Linked DNA regions of Homo sapiens: all the other regions are linked to region 3. The links are contacts of gene promoters, found by promoter capture Hi-C in blood cells and fetal thymus (Javierre and others, 2016). All regions are on one chromosome and are shown on one strand. Each heading gives the region's core, a stretch centred on a gene start or on the middle of the fragment in contact. The rest is flanking DNA. Distances are from core to core; before and after follow the strand shown. Region 1 overlaps CANX (calnexin). Region 2 overlaps MAML1 (mastermind like transcriptional coactivator 1). Region 3 holds the start of TBC1D9B (TBC1 domain family member 9B). Region 4 holds the start of MAML1 (mastermind like transcriptional coactivator 1). Region 5 overlaps LOC105377763 (a long non-coding RNA gene).

Region 1 (2,700 bases), core at 100-2,599, 200 kb after region 3:
CGCTTCCAGGGTTCAAGCAATTCTCCTGCCTCAGCCTCCTGAGTAGCTGGGATTACAGGCACCCTCCACCATGCCCGGCTAATTTTTGTATTTTTAGTAGAGATGGGGCTTCACCATGTTGGCCAGGCTGGTCTTAAACTCCTGACCTCAGGTGATCCGCCCACCTCGGCCACCCAAAGTGCTGGGATTATAGGCACGAGCCACCATGCCTGGCCAAAAACACCTATTCTATTCTTAAAATTATCTCGAACCTCAGTTCCTGTGGAAAAGAAGTTTTTTGGGTTTTTTGTTTTGTTTTTTGAGACAGCATCTCACTTTGTCACCCAGGCTACAGTGCAGTGGCAAGATCATGGCTCACTACAGTCTCGACTTCCTGGGCTCAAGCAATCCTCATACCTCAGCCTCCTGAGTAGCTGAAACTACAGGCACATGCCACTATACTCAGTTAATTCTTAAGATTTTGTAGAGACAGGGTCTGACTATGTTGTCAGGCTGGTTTGGAACTCCTGGACTCAAGCAATCCATCCGATTCAGCCTCCCGAAGTGTTAGGATTACAGGTGTGGGCCACCATACGTGGCCAAGAAGCTTCTTTTAATGCTGACAAATTAAGGTCATTTCCCAACTAAGATACTAAAGTGAAGAGATTCTTTTCTTTCGTGGAGGGGGTACAGAATCTTCCTCTGCCACCCAGGCTGGAGTGCAGTGATACAATCTTGACTCAACTGCAACCTCTGCCTCCTGGGTTAACGTAATTCTGCTGCCTCAGCCTCCCGAGTAGCTAGGATTACACCAGCTACTCAACACCACGCCCAGCTAATTTTTGTATTTTTAGTAGAGACGGGGTTTTACCATGTTGGCCATGCTAGTCTCGAATGCCTGATCTCAAGTGATCCGCCCGCCTCAGCCTCCCAAAGTGCTGGGATTACACGCATGAGCAACCATACCAGGCTGAGATTCTTCTTGTTTGGAGGCTGGGGTACTCTCCAGATATACAATCTTTTTTTTTTTTTTTTGAGATGGAGTCTTGCTCTGTCTCCTAGGCTGGAGTGCAGTGGCGCGATCTCGGCTCACTGCAAGCTCTGCCTCCCGGGTTCGTGCCATTCTCCTGCCTCAGCCTCCCAAGTAGCTGCGACTACAGGTGCCCACCACCACGCCCGGCTAATATTTTTGTATTTTTAGTAGAGACGGGGTTTCACCATGTTAGCCAGGATGGTCTCGATCTCCTGACCTTGTGATCCACCCGCCTCGGCCTCCCAAAGTGCTGGGATTACAGGTGTGAGCCACCGCGCCCAGCCTTTTTTTTTTTTTTTGAGATTGAGTCTCACTTTCGCCCAGGCTGGAATGCTGTGGCACAATGATCTTGGCTCCCTCCCAGGTTCAAGCAATTCTCCTGCCTCAGCCTCCCAACTAGCTTCGGTTACAGGCGTGCACCACCATGCCTAGCTAATATTTGTATTTTTAGTAGAGGTGAAGTTTCAACATTTTGGCCAGACTGTTCTCGAATTCCTGATCTCAGGTGATCTGCCCATCTCGGCCTCCCAAAGTGCTGGGATTACAGGCGTGAGCCACAGTGCCCGGCCAGATATACAATCTTTAAATTAAATGGATGATATATATGTAATACCATAAGCCCCCAAACTAATGCTTTTTCTTACTTAGTGTGTAAAGATGTGTTTTCTTATCAGTAAAATAGGTCTTCAGATCTGCATCTGGCCTCTTAGCATGTTTTTCTTCATAGATACCCGTTTTGGGGTTTTTGTGTCGGAAGATGAAGTGCAGTTTATAGTCCTCTCCACATTTATCTGGACCAAACATAATCGTATAAGGGGTCTTGTCATGGAACTGATCCTTCAAAAACAAAAAAGGATTATTTGAAGTCACTGTACTCAAAGTGTTCAAAAGCAACGTTTCAAAAGTGTATGATAATTCCTCTTATAAAATTCCAAATATATTAGTGACAGTTAAAGGAAAAGCTAACTACAAGTTTGTTTAGTAAAAAGGAATAACCAGCAATCATCAGTAAATTTAAAATAACGTTTAAGTGTCTAAAAAAAAGTAATGCACACATCTAGACAGTTATTGCTTCCTCATAAAACAAAGAAATAAGCTTGCCAAAACTAAAACTTACACAGAAGCAAAACCAGAAATTCAGATAAAAACAGTTGGTAACAACTTTGTAATTTACACTTCAAATAAAAAGCACGTTAGCGTCAAAGTCAATTTTCCCAACTCATCAAAAGAGTTAAACAGCAGGGGAGGAAGCCTTTATTTTCACAATTATTACAAAATTCTCTTTTTTTTTTTTTTGAGATGGAGTCTCGCTCTGTCGCCCAGGCTGGAGTGCAGTGGCGCAATCTCGGCTCACTGCAAGTTCCGCCTCCCAGGTTCATGCCATTCTCCTGCCTCAGCCTCCCAAGTGGCTGGGACTACAGGCGCCTGCCACCACGCCTGGCTAATTTTTTGTATTTTTAGTAGAGATGGGGTTTCACCATGTTAGCCAGATAGTCTCAATCTCCTGACCTCGTGATCCGCCTGCCTTGGCTTCCCAAAGTGCTGGGAGCTAGGATTACAGGCGTGAGCCACTGCACCCGGCCCAATTACAAAATTCTTACAAGGTAATAGTGGGTGTCCAGCCACATTCCAGAAATGGGAATTACATACCAGGTTGAGTTCTGGTGTTTTAGAAAGCAGTTTCACAT
Region 2 (2,774 bases), core at 199-2,698, 160 kb after region 3:
AAACAGAAACACTTCTCCCCCCCGATTCATCTCATCCACTACTGTCTTAATCCTTTGCCATTCGCTTTCTTCGAGGCATCAATCACTCGGTGTGTAAGTCCAGAACATGCATGTACTCCTCAAACTCCTTTGACCAAGCTGGACACCCTTATTCCCTTTACAAATAAAACAATTGAATCTACTTGTCCAAATGGATCTGGGAGTTAAGTGCAGCAATTCTATCTTAAGGAGAAAAATTTGAAATATTATCAAACGTAGCACGGAGGGTAATAAAAGTAAAAACGCATTAAAGATGTCAAGATAGACTGGTTTAATTGAGTAGTGAAATCAGAAGGCAGATTGCCAGAGGCCAAAGACAGACAATGTGAATTCAGGACTCCTTCACCCCAGCACGCGCGCGCGCGCGCGCACACACACACACACACACACACACACACACACACACACTAAAAAATAGCATCTAGGATTTAGGTGAGCAAACTGAAATCAGTAATTATAAATACAGTCTTTCCTGTTCCAATGATTGTGAAGTGACAGTGAGATAAGAGTTCCACAGATGGGCCAGGTGCTGTGGTTCACGCCTGTAATCCCAGCACTTTGGGAGGCCAAGACGGGCGGATCACCTGAGGTCAGGAGTTCAAGACCAGCCTGGCCAACATGGTGAAACCCTGTCTCTACTAAAATACAAAAATTAGCTGGGCATGATGGCGGGTGCCTGTAATCCCAGCTACTCAGGAGGCTGAGACTGGAGAATCACTTGAATCTGGAAGATGGTGGTTGCGGTGAGCCGAGATTGCACCACTGCACTCCAGCCTGGGCAGCTGAGTGAGACTCCTTCTCAAAAAAATAAAATAAAATAAATGAGTTCCACAGATGAAAGAGGACATAAAGAGTAATATCCAGAGGCTGAGGCAGGAGAATGGCGTGAACCCGGGAGGCGGAGCTTGTAGTGAGCTGAGATCACGCCACTGCACTCCAGCCTGGGCGACAGAGCGAGATTCCATCTCAAAAAAAAAAAAAAAAAAAAAAAAAAGAGTATCTAATAAAGTGTTAAACTCAACACAGTACAAACGTACTCATTACTCAACAGCACTAATAGAAATATGCCAGCCACAAGTGTGGGCAAAATTTGCTAGTAGCACATAAAAAGAAACAGATGGTGCCAATTTTAATATCATATTTAACCCAATATATATGAACTTTTTAACATATAATCAGTATTTTTTGAGAAAAAATCTTAATATCTTTAATAATGTTATTTAACCATATATATATATATATTTTTTTTTTTTTTTTTTTTTTTTTTGGAGACAGAGTCTAGCTCTGTTGCCAGGCTGGAGTGCAGTGGTGCGATCTCGGCTCACTGCAACCTCCACCTCCCGCGTTCAAGCGATTCTCCTGCCTCAGCCTCTTGAGTGGCTGGGACTACAGGCGTGCGCCACCACACCCAGCTAATTTCTGTATTTTTAGTAGAGAGGGGGTTTCGCTATGTTGGCCAGGATGGTCTTGATCTCTTCACCTCGTGATCCACCCACCTCGGCCTCCCAAAGTGCTGGGATTACAGGTGTGAGCCACCACACTGGGCCTATATTATCTTTTTAACATGTAATCAGTATTTTTTTTTCTTTGAGACAAGGTCTCACTCTATTGCCCACGATGGAGTGCAGTGGTGCAATCACAGCTCACTGCAGCCCTGACCTCCCAGGCTCAGATGATCCTCTCACCTCAGCCTCCCTAGTAGCTGGAACTACAGGTGTACACCACCAAGCCTGGCTAATTTTTTGTAAAGATGGGGTTTTGCCATGCTGCCCAGGCTGGTCTTGAACTCCTGGGCTCAAGTGATCTGCCCAGTTCAGCCTCCCCAAGTGCTGGGATTACAGGCATGAGCTACTGTGCCTGGCCATAATCGGTATTTTTTTCTTTTTTTGAGATGGAGTCTCGCTCTGTCACCCAGGCTGGAGTGCAGTGGCATGATCTTGGCTCACTGCACCCGCTGCCTCCCGGGTTCAAGTGATTCTCCTGCCTCAGCCTCCCGAGTAGCTGGGATTACAGGTGTGCGCCACCATGCCCGGCTAATTTTTGTATTTTTAGTAGAGACGGGCTTTCGCCATGCTGGCCAGGGTGGTCTCGAACTTGACCTCATGATCCGCCCGCCTTGGCCTCCCAAAGTGTTGGGATTACAGGTGACAGCCACTGAAGTGAGTGCACCAAAAAAATCTGTGGTACTAAATTATCAAAATCCAGTGTGCATTTTACACTTTTAGCACAAGTCAAGTTTAACAAGGTGCATTCCACGTGCTTAAGAACCTGACCTGGCTGATGGCTACCCTCATGGACAGTATAACTATAGAAAGTAGCCAGCTGGGCACGGTGGCTCACGCCTGTAATCCCAGCACTTTAGGAGGCCGAGGCGGGTGGATCACCTGAGGTCAGGAGTTTGAGACCAGCCTGACCAATATGGTGAAACCCTGTCTCTACTAAAAATAAAAAATTAGCTACGCATCGTGGTGTGCGCCTGTAGTCCCAGCTACTCGGGAGGCTGAGACAGGAGAATCGCTTGAACCCAGGAGGCAGAGGTTGCAGTGAGCCAAGATCGTGCCACTGCACTCCAGCCTGGTGACAGAGCGAGATTCTGATTTAAAAAAAAGTAGCCTTGAACAACTAAGTTTTCAGGACAGCACTGAAGATAAGGGAAGCCCCCGGGACCTGCCGCCTGGGCCCAGCAGCAGCTCCTTACTGCACAAAGGGCTCCATACAGCAGGCACTGTGGCTCT
Region 3 (2,700 bases), core at 146-2,645:
TGGGATTAAGGAACAAGACGACTCTTTACCTCCTCTCAGGGTGTTAAAAAGTGCAGTTCTTCCAAATTCTTTCCCTCTAGAGAGCACAATGACAATATTAGTTCAGACTTCCAAGGTGTTGAAGAAAGCCCGCCTCTGCATCTTGAAAGCTGATTCCTATATCCAGCAACATTGAAGAAGACTGCAGATCACTCTGGGTGTCAACTGCATGTACCTACATCCATCGCACCAAGATTCTTGAGTGCCAATCACAGAAACCCACCTGGAAGTCAGGTCCAGCTCCAAGGATGGTTTAACTGCCCCCTTCCCTTTGCCCTCTAGCCAGACCCTGGTGAGGGTTCCAGCCAGCAGGGTGACCCCACATCCCAGTCGACCCCGGACAGGCCCCAGGCCCGTTGTCCCAGGTGGAGTTGACAGCCCCCTCATGCAGAAGGCTGTGTGTGGACTGGCGCTGCCCCTGCAGGCCAACACTGGGAGACCAGGGACCCGCATTCGCCTGCAGCCAGCCTCACACTTGCGCAGAAGCCGCCACTGGGCCCAGGGCCAGTCCAGACCCCATCCCCAGGGCCGGCCAGCCTCTGTGACCCGTCTGTCAGGGGAGGGGCAGCACTGATTTCCAAGGATGCAGCCCGTATCAGGGCCTCCTGGCACCTGCCCTGCGCTGGAAGATTCTTCTAGTCTCCCGGCCCCAGTGTCAGAATTCTGAGAACTGGCCGGGCGCGATGGTTCACTCCTGTAATCCCAGGACTTGGGAGGCCAATGTAGGCGGATCACCCGAGGTCAGGAGTTCGAGACCAGCCTGGCCAACATGGTGAAACCCCGTCTCTACTAAAAATACAAAAAAATTAGCCGGGCGTGTTGGCGGGAGCCTGTAATCCCAGCTAAAGAGGCTGGGGCAGGAGAATCACTTGAACCCGGGAGGCAGAGGTTGCAGTGAGCTGAGATTGCGCCACTGCACTCCAGCCTGGGCGACACAGCAAGACTCTGTCGAAAAAAAAAAAAGAAAAGAAAGCTGAGAATTAGGAGGAACTGCAAACCCTTTCCAGGCGCCCTTTGCAGTGCTAACACGCCCCGGGTTGCACGCGCAACCAGCCAAAAGCCGCCAAACTCTGCTTCTTGACATCCTTCTCTCACACTGCACAGCTTTCAAAACGCCAGAAGCCCTGCTCTGCACAGCGGCTCCCCTGTCTGCGGACTGGGCCGTTCCGTTCTGGACCCAGGCCGGAGGCCGTGGGCTGCACCGCTCCAGGAGGCCAGGCTGGCGCGCGCCCGAGGCCGGGGCTGAGGGGGCGGCGCGGAACTCGGGCCGCGTGCGGGAGCGCCACACGCCCGCCAGGGGGCGCCGCCCGCCCGGCCCCGCCCCGCCCCGGCCCGCTCCGCACGCTCCGCTCCGCACGCTCCGCTCCGGGACGCCGACGGCGGCGGGCGCTTCCGTCTCGCGGGCCTCGGCCCGGTGCGAGCGGCTCCGCGATGTGGCTGAGCCCGGAGGAGGTGCTGGTGGCCAATGCGCTGTGGGTGACGGAGCGGGCCAACCCCTTCTTCGTGCTGCAGCGACGCCGGGGCCACGGCAGGGGCGGCGGCCTTACGGGTGAGAGGCGCGCGGGCGGCCGGGCCTGTGGGCGCCGCGGCTGGGCTGGCGGCGGGGCTGGCGGCGGGCGGCGGGCGGGTCCGGTTCCGGCCCGGCCTCGGCGCGTCGCGGCGGACACGCACGCCAGCGCGCGGCGGGGCGGGGGCGCGAGGCCAGGACCCGGGAGCCGGGCGCGGAGGGGCCGGGGCGGGGAGGCGAGGGGCTGGCGGGAGGCGAATGCGCCCTCGGCGGGCTCTCCTCAGGTCGGCTTGGGGCGGCCAAGTGGAGACCGGCGGCGGCTTCTGCCCGGATTCGGCGCCCGCGAGCCCCGGGGGCCGTGCAGCTTCCCGGGATCTCACCGCCGAAAGTTGGCGAGACCGCCCTGTCCTCATCCTCCACCTCAGTTTCCCCAGGTGCCTCTAAGGGGCCAGGTGACGCCAGCGCACGTTTTCTTTTGCCCTCTTCTTCGTGCCCATCTCACCAAAGTATCGCCCTTTTAGCAAGATCAGAGGTCCCTGGAGCTGGCCGCACCCCCATTCCCCCAGCTTCTCCTCCCCCACCTTTCCTGCTCCTGGCTGCTCTCAGAGCTGCGCACCCAAGGCTGTGGGTAGCGGCACAGGGTGTTCCTGCAAGCTCGCCAAGGTGGCCCTTTGTGGGCCCGGGTGCCACCATCACACAGGATGAAGCTGGACAGGCACCCTTGGAGTCGTGCGGCCTGTGGGATCCAGGGGAGGCCCACAGGCCACTCCCTCCGCAGGTGGTGTCCGGGGCCCCTCATGCTCCAGGGCCTGCGCCCAGCACTGCAGGAGCCCGGCTGGCTCGGGCTCAGTGCCTGTGCTCTTCGGGGCACCGACTGTTGCCCTACAGGATTGCGGTCCCAGTGTTGCCAGGTCGTCCAGTTTATCAAGAGCATTTTCTGTGAATCATCCTGATTTTCAGTGTGAGCAGCTAATAGCCAGATGCAGACGGAGGCTTCTCCTGGGCCACGTTTCTTCATGTGGAAGAGACTGTTCTGTTCCCAGAAACACTCAGTGTTCCCTTCAGCTTCGGGTTCCCTCCCAGTGGGCTTCAAGGATCTCGGGCTCCTGTTCTGGACCCGCCTCCTAGATCCAGCTGTTCAGTCGGCAGCCCCT
Region 4 (2,700 bases), core at 149-2,648, 180 kb after region 3:
TAAACTAAAATCCCCAAGAAAACCACTGAAAAACCTTGTCTCTTTTGTAAATCTGTTTCAGGAAGAAAAACCTCTAACCAACAAATTTCAGGAACATTTACTGAGAGCCCAAAGGGAGTAATAATTGACCAACAATCTAACATCATCAGAGATTTTAAACAGGCCTGATAAATTAAAACTAGAATTGTCAACAATATTGCAGGAATCTCAAGTTCACAAAGTTCAGGCTACCTAAACAAGGAATACTTATATGCAACTCATTGAACATTTTACTAAGTTTTCCAAAAATTTCTTGATTTTCCATTCAGAGGAGTTTCAGTTGGTCAACCAAAGGCCGACTTATTTCCACATGAAAGCCCTGATCCTGCTCACAGCACAGGATCTTGTAAAGGGCAAGGACCCAATAAACATTTGCAGAATAAATGAGGCCAGGCCTACGGTGCAGGAACTCCCTCCATCACAGGCGACTCGAATGCTAGTCTATTTCGAATAAAGATCTCAACATCCCGGAATCAAGTCTGGAAGAAAAACCCTCCGGTTAGCGTTCGCCAGCCTTCCCAGGTCGGGCCTCCTGCAAGGCCCTCAAGGCGCTGTTTTCCCAAAGTAACGCCACCGTGCCACTTCCCAAAGATGACAACCTCTCAGCTCCCTGCCATGTTACCCTCTCTCCAGCCAGATCCAGGAGTCGCGGACGCCTGGGGAAGTCTCCCAGCGGCCCGATCCGCGTCAGAGGAAGCGTTTTCGGGAGAGGGGGCTGCCGCCACGACAAGCGCCTTCCCGCGCCCTACTCACCGTGGCCGGGCGGCCGTGCTCGGGGCCGTCAGCGGCGTCCAGGCGCGGGGCCGGGGCGGCGGGCGCCGGGGCCGTGGCGGCGGGCGGCTGCCTGTGCTTCCCGGCGCGCTTGGCCTTGGCCTGGATGCAGCGCTGGTGCAGGGCGAAGGTGTGTTGGCGCTCCAGCTCCAGGCGCTCGGGCGACACGGCCTCGTAGCGGGCCTCGCAGGTGCTGTGGTGGCGCCGGCACAGCTCGATGCGCCGGCGAAGGCGCTCCATGACCGCGCTGTGCCGCGGCAGCGCGAACTCCGCCATGGGGCAGGTGGGCAGCACCATGGGCCGCGGGCTGCACGGGCCGGGCCCGGGGCCGGGCCTCTCGGGGCCGGCTGGCACTGCGGGCTTCGCTCCCCGCGGCTACCCCTCTCCGCCTCACGGCCGCGCCATGCCCCCGAGGGCAGCGGAGCGGGCTCGCGCGCGGCGGCGGGTTTTCCTCCTGCCCCGCTCGGCCCGACCCCCAGCCGGCGCTTGCTGCCTACCTCAAGCCTCGGCCTCTCCCCACCGCCCCGGCCCCATTGTTTTCCGCGCTACCGCCGCGGCCGCCATCTTAAAATTGTTTTCGGGCCTCTCGGAAGAAGGCGGGGCCTCGGTAAGAGACCTTGTGCATCACGACTGATGAGCAGGGGCCCTGGCCAATCAGAGAAGGAAGAACCGGCCGCCCGAGGGCGTGGGGACGAGCACGCAAGAGGCGCGCTCGGGCGCCAGAGCGGTATTTAAAAGGAATTCTCAAGCGAAGGGCGGAGGGAAGCCCCTGGGCGGGCCTTAATCCTGGGGGCGGAGCTAAGCGTGACTGACAGGAGCCCGTCCAAGAGGCGGCTATTGGTTTCCTGCACAGCACCCGCTGAAGGCAGGCCCTTCCGGCTACCCCGAGAAAAGGGGAATCTGGCAGGCGAGTGCGGCGCAGCTGGCCAGTCCCTGTCGCCCGCCTGGCAGTACAGAGACCTTTTTTTTAAATTATTTTTTAAATTTCGACTTTGATAAACTCTAAGTAGCCACGCTATTTTAATGTCAGCCGTTTTACTTTGACCTTATTCCTTGTATCCAGCCCCATAATTGGTCAGAATCGTCTAGTGAGCTGGTAGTTTCCTCTTGCAACATTCCGAATCACTGGTAGTTTCCACCTATTTGTAAAAGCCCGAGCAAGTTTCAAAAGTGCAGTATTACTCACTACTTAAAAAAAAAGTCCAGAAGATGTGAGCAAAAGCATGCAAGAGTGCAGCTCCATTAGAGGGAACTGGAAATGCAAAGGACGACGTTTCACCACAACCACCGCCTTCCAGGCTCAAGCGATTCTCCTGCCTCAGCCTCTCCAGTAGCTGGGATTACAGGCATGCGCCACCACGCGCGGCTAATTTTGTATTTTTAGTAGAGACGGGGTGTCTCCATGTCGGTCAGGCTGGTCTCCCACTCCTGACCTCAGGTGATCCGCCCACCTCGGCCTGCCAAAGTACCGCGATTACAGGCGTGAGCCGCCGCGCCGGACCAAAAACAGTCCTTTAGGTAAAACTGAGTTACTCAACAAAACCAAACCAAGACAAATTATGCCCCATTATTAAAACTAATAGGCAAAGGGGAGTAGAGGGACTGGAGCAATCAAACAGTGTTAGTACTAAAACTAGATAGTGTGATGCCAAAGGATATCAGGAACTCTAGATATGGGCACTCTAATTGCTAAAAGGTTAAGCAGGAGGTGGCAGGAGGCTGCACATTGAGATACACCATCAGTAGTTCAAACATTCGTTACTCTAGCTTTTTACTAGGGCTCATGAGGTTTTATTTTAAAATCAAGAGAAAACAACAATCAAATATGTCTTCATACAAACGCAGCAGAAAAATACAAATCCTAATGTTTTAAATGGAGAAAGTGGGCCA
Region 5 (2,700 bases), core at 100-2,599, 240 kb after region 3:
GCTGGAGTGCAGTGGCGCAATCTCGGCTTACTGCAACCTCTGCCTCCCGAGTTCAAGTGATTCTCCTACCTCAGCCTCCCAAGTAGCTAGGATTACAGGTCTGCACGACCACGATTGGCTAATTTTTGTGTTTTTAGCAGAGGTGGGGTTTTGCCATGTTGACCGGGCTGGTCTCAAACTCCTGACCTCAACTGATCCGCCCACCTTGGCCACCAAAGTGCTGGGATTACAGGCGTGAGGCACGATGCTTGGACCTCTCCAAGTACTTCTAGAATGAACAAAGCTCCACAAGAGATAGGCACCTGAATCCAGAGGAGCAGATACTGCTTAGCCATTGTCACAGATTTCTGCACCCTTAGGAGGCAGGAGAGGTGTCCAGGATGCTGTTGGGACTTCTGGTTATATCTGGTCAGCCCTGCTCTGACTGAAGCTGCAGCTGTGGCTCATGGTTCTGTACCCTGGGTCACTCTTCCCAATCTCTCTCCCCATGTTGACCAGGCTGGTCTCAAACTCCTGGCCTCAACTGATTCACCCACCTTGGCCCCCAGAGTGCTGGGATTATAGGCATGGAATTACATGGATTACAGTTTCCTGGAATGTCCCAAGTTAACTATGCCGAAGTTCCAGGATCAAGCTCTGTTTTTGTGAGGATTCAAGCTAAGGCAATGAGTAATAGAGGTAGCACTAGAAGACAGACCTAGCGATAGGAATCTAAAAGTAGATCACTTACCATTCGGAAGGCAACAAAGACACACACACACACACACACACAGTTGGTGATAACCTTGTGTCCTGAAGCATGAGACTCTTACCTGTGGTAGATAAGGAGATAGAAGTTGAAGAGAAAGCTTGGCTTATGCAGTAGCTTTGTCACTTGAAAGATGTGGAAGCAGCTGCTGTTGCAAGGATTATGGAGGTGGCTAGCTTTTCTAAATCACCTTAGCAGCTTTGAAGCAAGAGAATGAAAGATGCAGTTCAGCCTGCTATCTACTCAGAGTATGCTGTGAAAGGCAGGAACTCTCCCAAGACAACATGTAAAGAAAACCTTGCTTCCGTGGCCAGGAGGCAGAGCATGCTGAAAATGAGAACCAATATTTCATCACAAGAGCAGCAGAGCTGCAAAAGACACTTGTGCATCCTCAGCAGGTCTCCTGTACTAAAGTGGGGGCTTCTATTATTTTTATTTTTGTAGAGACGGGGATCTTGCTATGTTCCTCAGGCTGGTTTCGAACTCCTGGCCTCAACTGATCCACCTGCCATGGCCTCACAAACTTCTGGGATTACAGACATGAGCCACAGTAACCGGCCCATTGGGTGCTTTTAAAGGAATAAATGGGACTCTAGGCCTGACGTGGGATGTTTGGGTGGATGTACCAAAGAACCTTGAGCCCCCAGAGTCCCCTGAAGCATCCTGGCCAGCAGAAACTGCCTTCTTCCCATTGACAGAGGAGGACAGCTTCATCTAGCCTGGAGACAGTGCAGAGATCTCCCCGTTACAGGTGAGTACCCTGTAAGATAACACTAATCCTCCTCAAGATCCACCTCCTCTCATTGCCTCCAGACCAACAAGCAGGATCACATCTCAGCATAGCCCAAGCAGTGAAATATTTCCTACCCTAGGAGGAAATCACTCAGTCACCCAAAAAGTTGCAGGACCTGGGAGAACACTTGCGGGAGCGATCATGAGGGTACCAGATCCAGGTGGGGTACCAGATCCAGGCGGGGAGGGGGCAATAGAAGACCGGTGGGGCATTGATTGACAAGGGTGCATGCCCCAAGACTCAGGATTTAAAGTCCTGTCAAAGGACAGCTGGAGCTTGTCTTCACGCCAGACGGCTCCCGGAAGCTTGGACACCATAGTGGCCTACCATTAATGAGGTAGAGATGAAGGCTCAGGGAAGTGGGAATGTTAGAACGGATTTATTACATGAGACCAGAAGGTGTTTCATGGAGCTGCCCAGAGGAGGCGCTCTTCACTAAGGCAATGCAGAATGTGGACGTGAGGGGGCACTGGTGTCATAGAAAGCTGGTGGTGGCTGTGCTCTGTGGCTAGGAGATGCTGCCATGGAACTTGGCTCCTTAGTGTCTTGGGGATGACACGATTCTGGAATGGCATTTAACCATTCTGGATGGCAACATTTAACCCTCAGAAGCCAAGAGGGCTCTTATACTGTGTAGCAAGATTGGAATGGCAACTGTGGGAGGGGGAGTGCTTCTCAGGGATCTATGGCAATGATGATAATAGGTCATTGATGGGCAGCCAACCAAAGAAAGGGAGGCAGACAGTGACTGACAGAAAAGGTTGGGAACAAGGATGAGGGTCATGCTGCAGAGATCTGACAGTCTTCCGCTGACAGTGCCATACCCCTGTGGGAAAGACAGGAAAACCTCCAAATTAACTGAAATTCAGTTTCTACCACTACATTAGAGTGGCAGGTTTGACCTACAGATTGAATTACAGAAAGATATTTTAGGCCAGGTGCAGTGGCTCACGCCTGTAATCCCAGCCCTTTGGGAGGTTAAGGCAGGAAGATCGCTTGAAGCAAGAAGTTCAAGACCAGCCTGGGCAATATAATGAGACTCCCATCTCTACAAAAAGAAAATCAAAGAAAAAGAAATTTTGTTTTGTTTTTGAGAGAGTCTCGCTCTGTCACCCAGGCTGAAGTGCAGTGCTGTGATCTCAGCTCACTGCAACCTCCG

What was found. Contacts are between HindIII fragments. The CHiCAGO score rates a contact against its expected background, and 5 or more counts as called.
Region 1: a contact is called between a fragment that was not itself captured here and the fragment with the promoter of TBC1D9B in region 3, in 2 of 17 cell types (monocytes and total CD4 T cells). The highest score is 6.6, in monocytes.
Region 2: a contact is called between a fragment that was not itself captured here and the fragment with the promoter of TBC1D9B in region 3, in 4 of 17 cell types (total CD8 T cells, naive B cells, monocytes and 1 more). The highest score is 6.5, in total CD8 T cells.
Region 4: the fragment with the promoter of MAML1 here is called in contact with the fragment with the promoter of TBC1D9B in region 3 in 1 of 17 cell types (neutrophils); the score reaches 5.0 in neutrophils.
Region 5: a contact is called between a fragment that was not itself captured here and the fragment with the promoter of TBC1D9B in region 3, in 1 of 17 cell types (neutrophils). The highest score is 6.2, in neutrophils.

Annotation. Positions count from the first base shown.
Region 1 is chr5:179,709,022-179,711,721 of GRCh38, reverse strand. It overlaps CANX (calnexin), which reads right to left. Exons shown (of 15, transcript NM_001746.4): 6 at 2,663-2,700; 7 at 1,657-1,849. Among named protein-coding and RNA genes, the nearest start is that of CANX, 11 kb to the right of the region's middle. The HindIII fragment of the contact is 1,522 bases long and covers 589-2,110 here.
Region 2 is chr5:179,750,858-179,753,631 of GRCh38, reverse strand. All of the region lies in intron 1 of MAML1 (mastermind like transcriptional coactivator 1), which reads right to left. Among named protein-coding and RNA genes, the nearest start is that of MAML1, 19 kb to the right of the region's middle. The HindIII fragment of the contact is 6,852 bases long and covers 1-2,774 here.
Region 3 is chr5:179,906,592-179,909,291 of GRCh38, reverse strand. TBC1D9B (TBC1 domain family member 9B) reads left to right here and starts at 1,395. Exons shown (of 21, transcript NM_015043.4): 1 at 1,395-1,588. The coding sequence starts at 1,471. RefSeq lists silencers at 1,244-1,403, 1,474-1,533, 1,544-1,683, 1,734-1,783 and an enhancer at 1,664-2,441. The HindIII fragment of the contact is 10,003 bases long and covers 1-2,700 here.
Region 4 is chr5:179,731,520-179,734,219 of GRCh38, reverse strand. It overlaps MAML1 (mastermind like transcriptional coactivator 1), which reads right to left and starts at 1,398. Exons shown (of 5, transcript NM_014757.5): 1 at 793-1,398. The coding sequence starts at 1,107. CANX (calnexin) reads right to left here. Exons shown (of 15, transcript NM_001746.4): 15 at 2,579-2,700. RefSeq lists silencers at 806-865, 1,106-1,305 and enhancers at 494-994, 1,756-1,855. The HindIII fragment of the contact is 11,025 bases long and covers 1-2,700 here.
Region 5 is chr5:179,667,884-179,670,583 of GRCh38, reverse strand. All of the region lies in intron 2 of LOC105377763 (a long non-coding RNA gene), which reads right to left. Among named protein-coding and RNA genes, the nearest start is that of CBY3, 12 kb to the left of the region's middle. The HindIII fragment of the contact is 998 bases long and covers 851-1,848 here.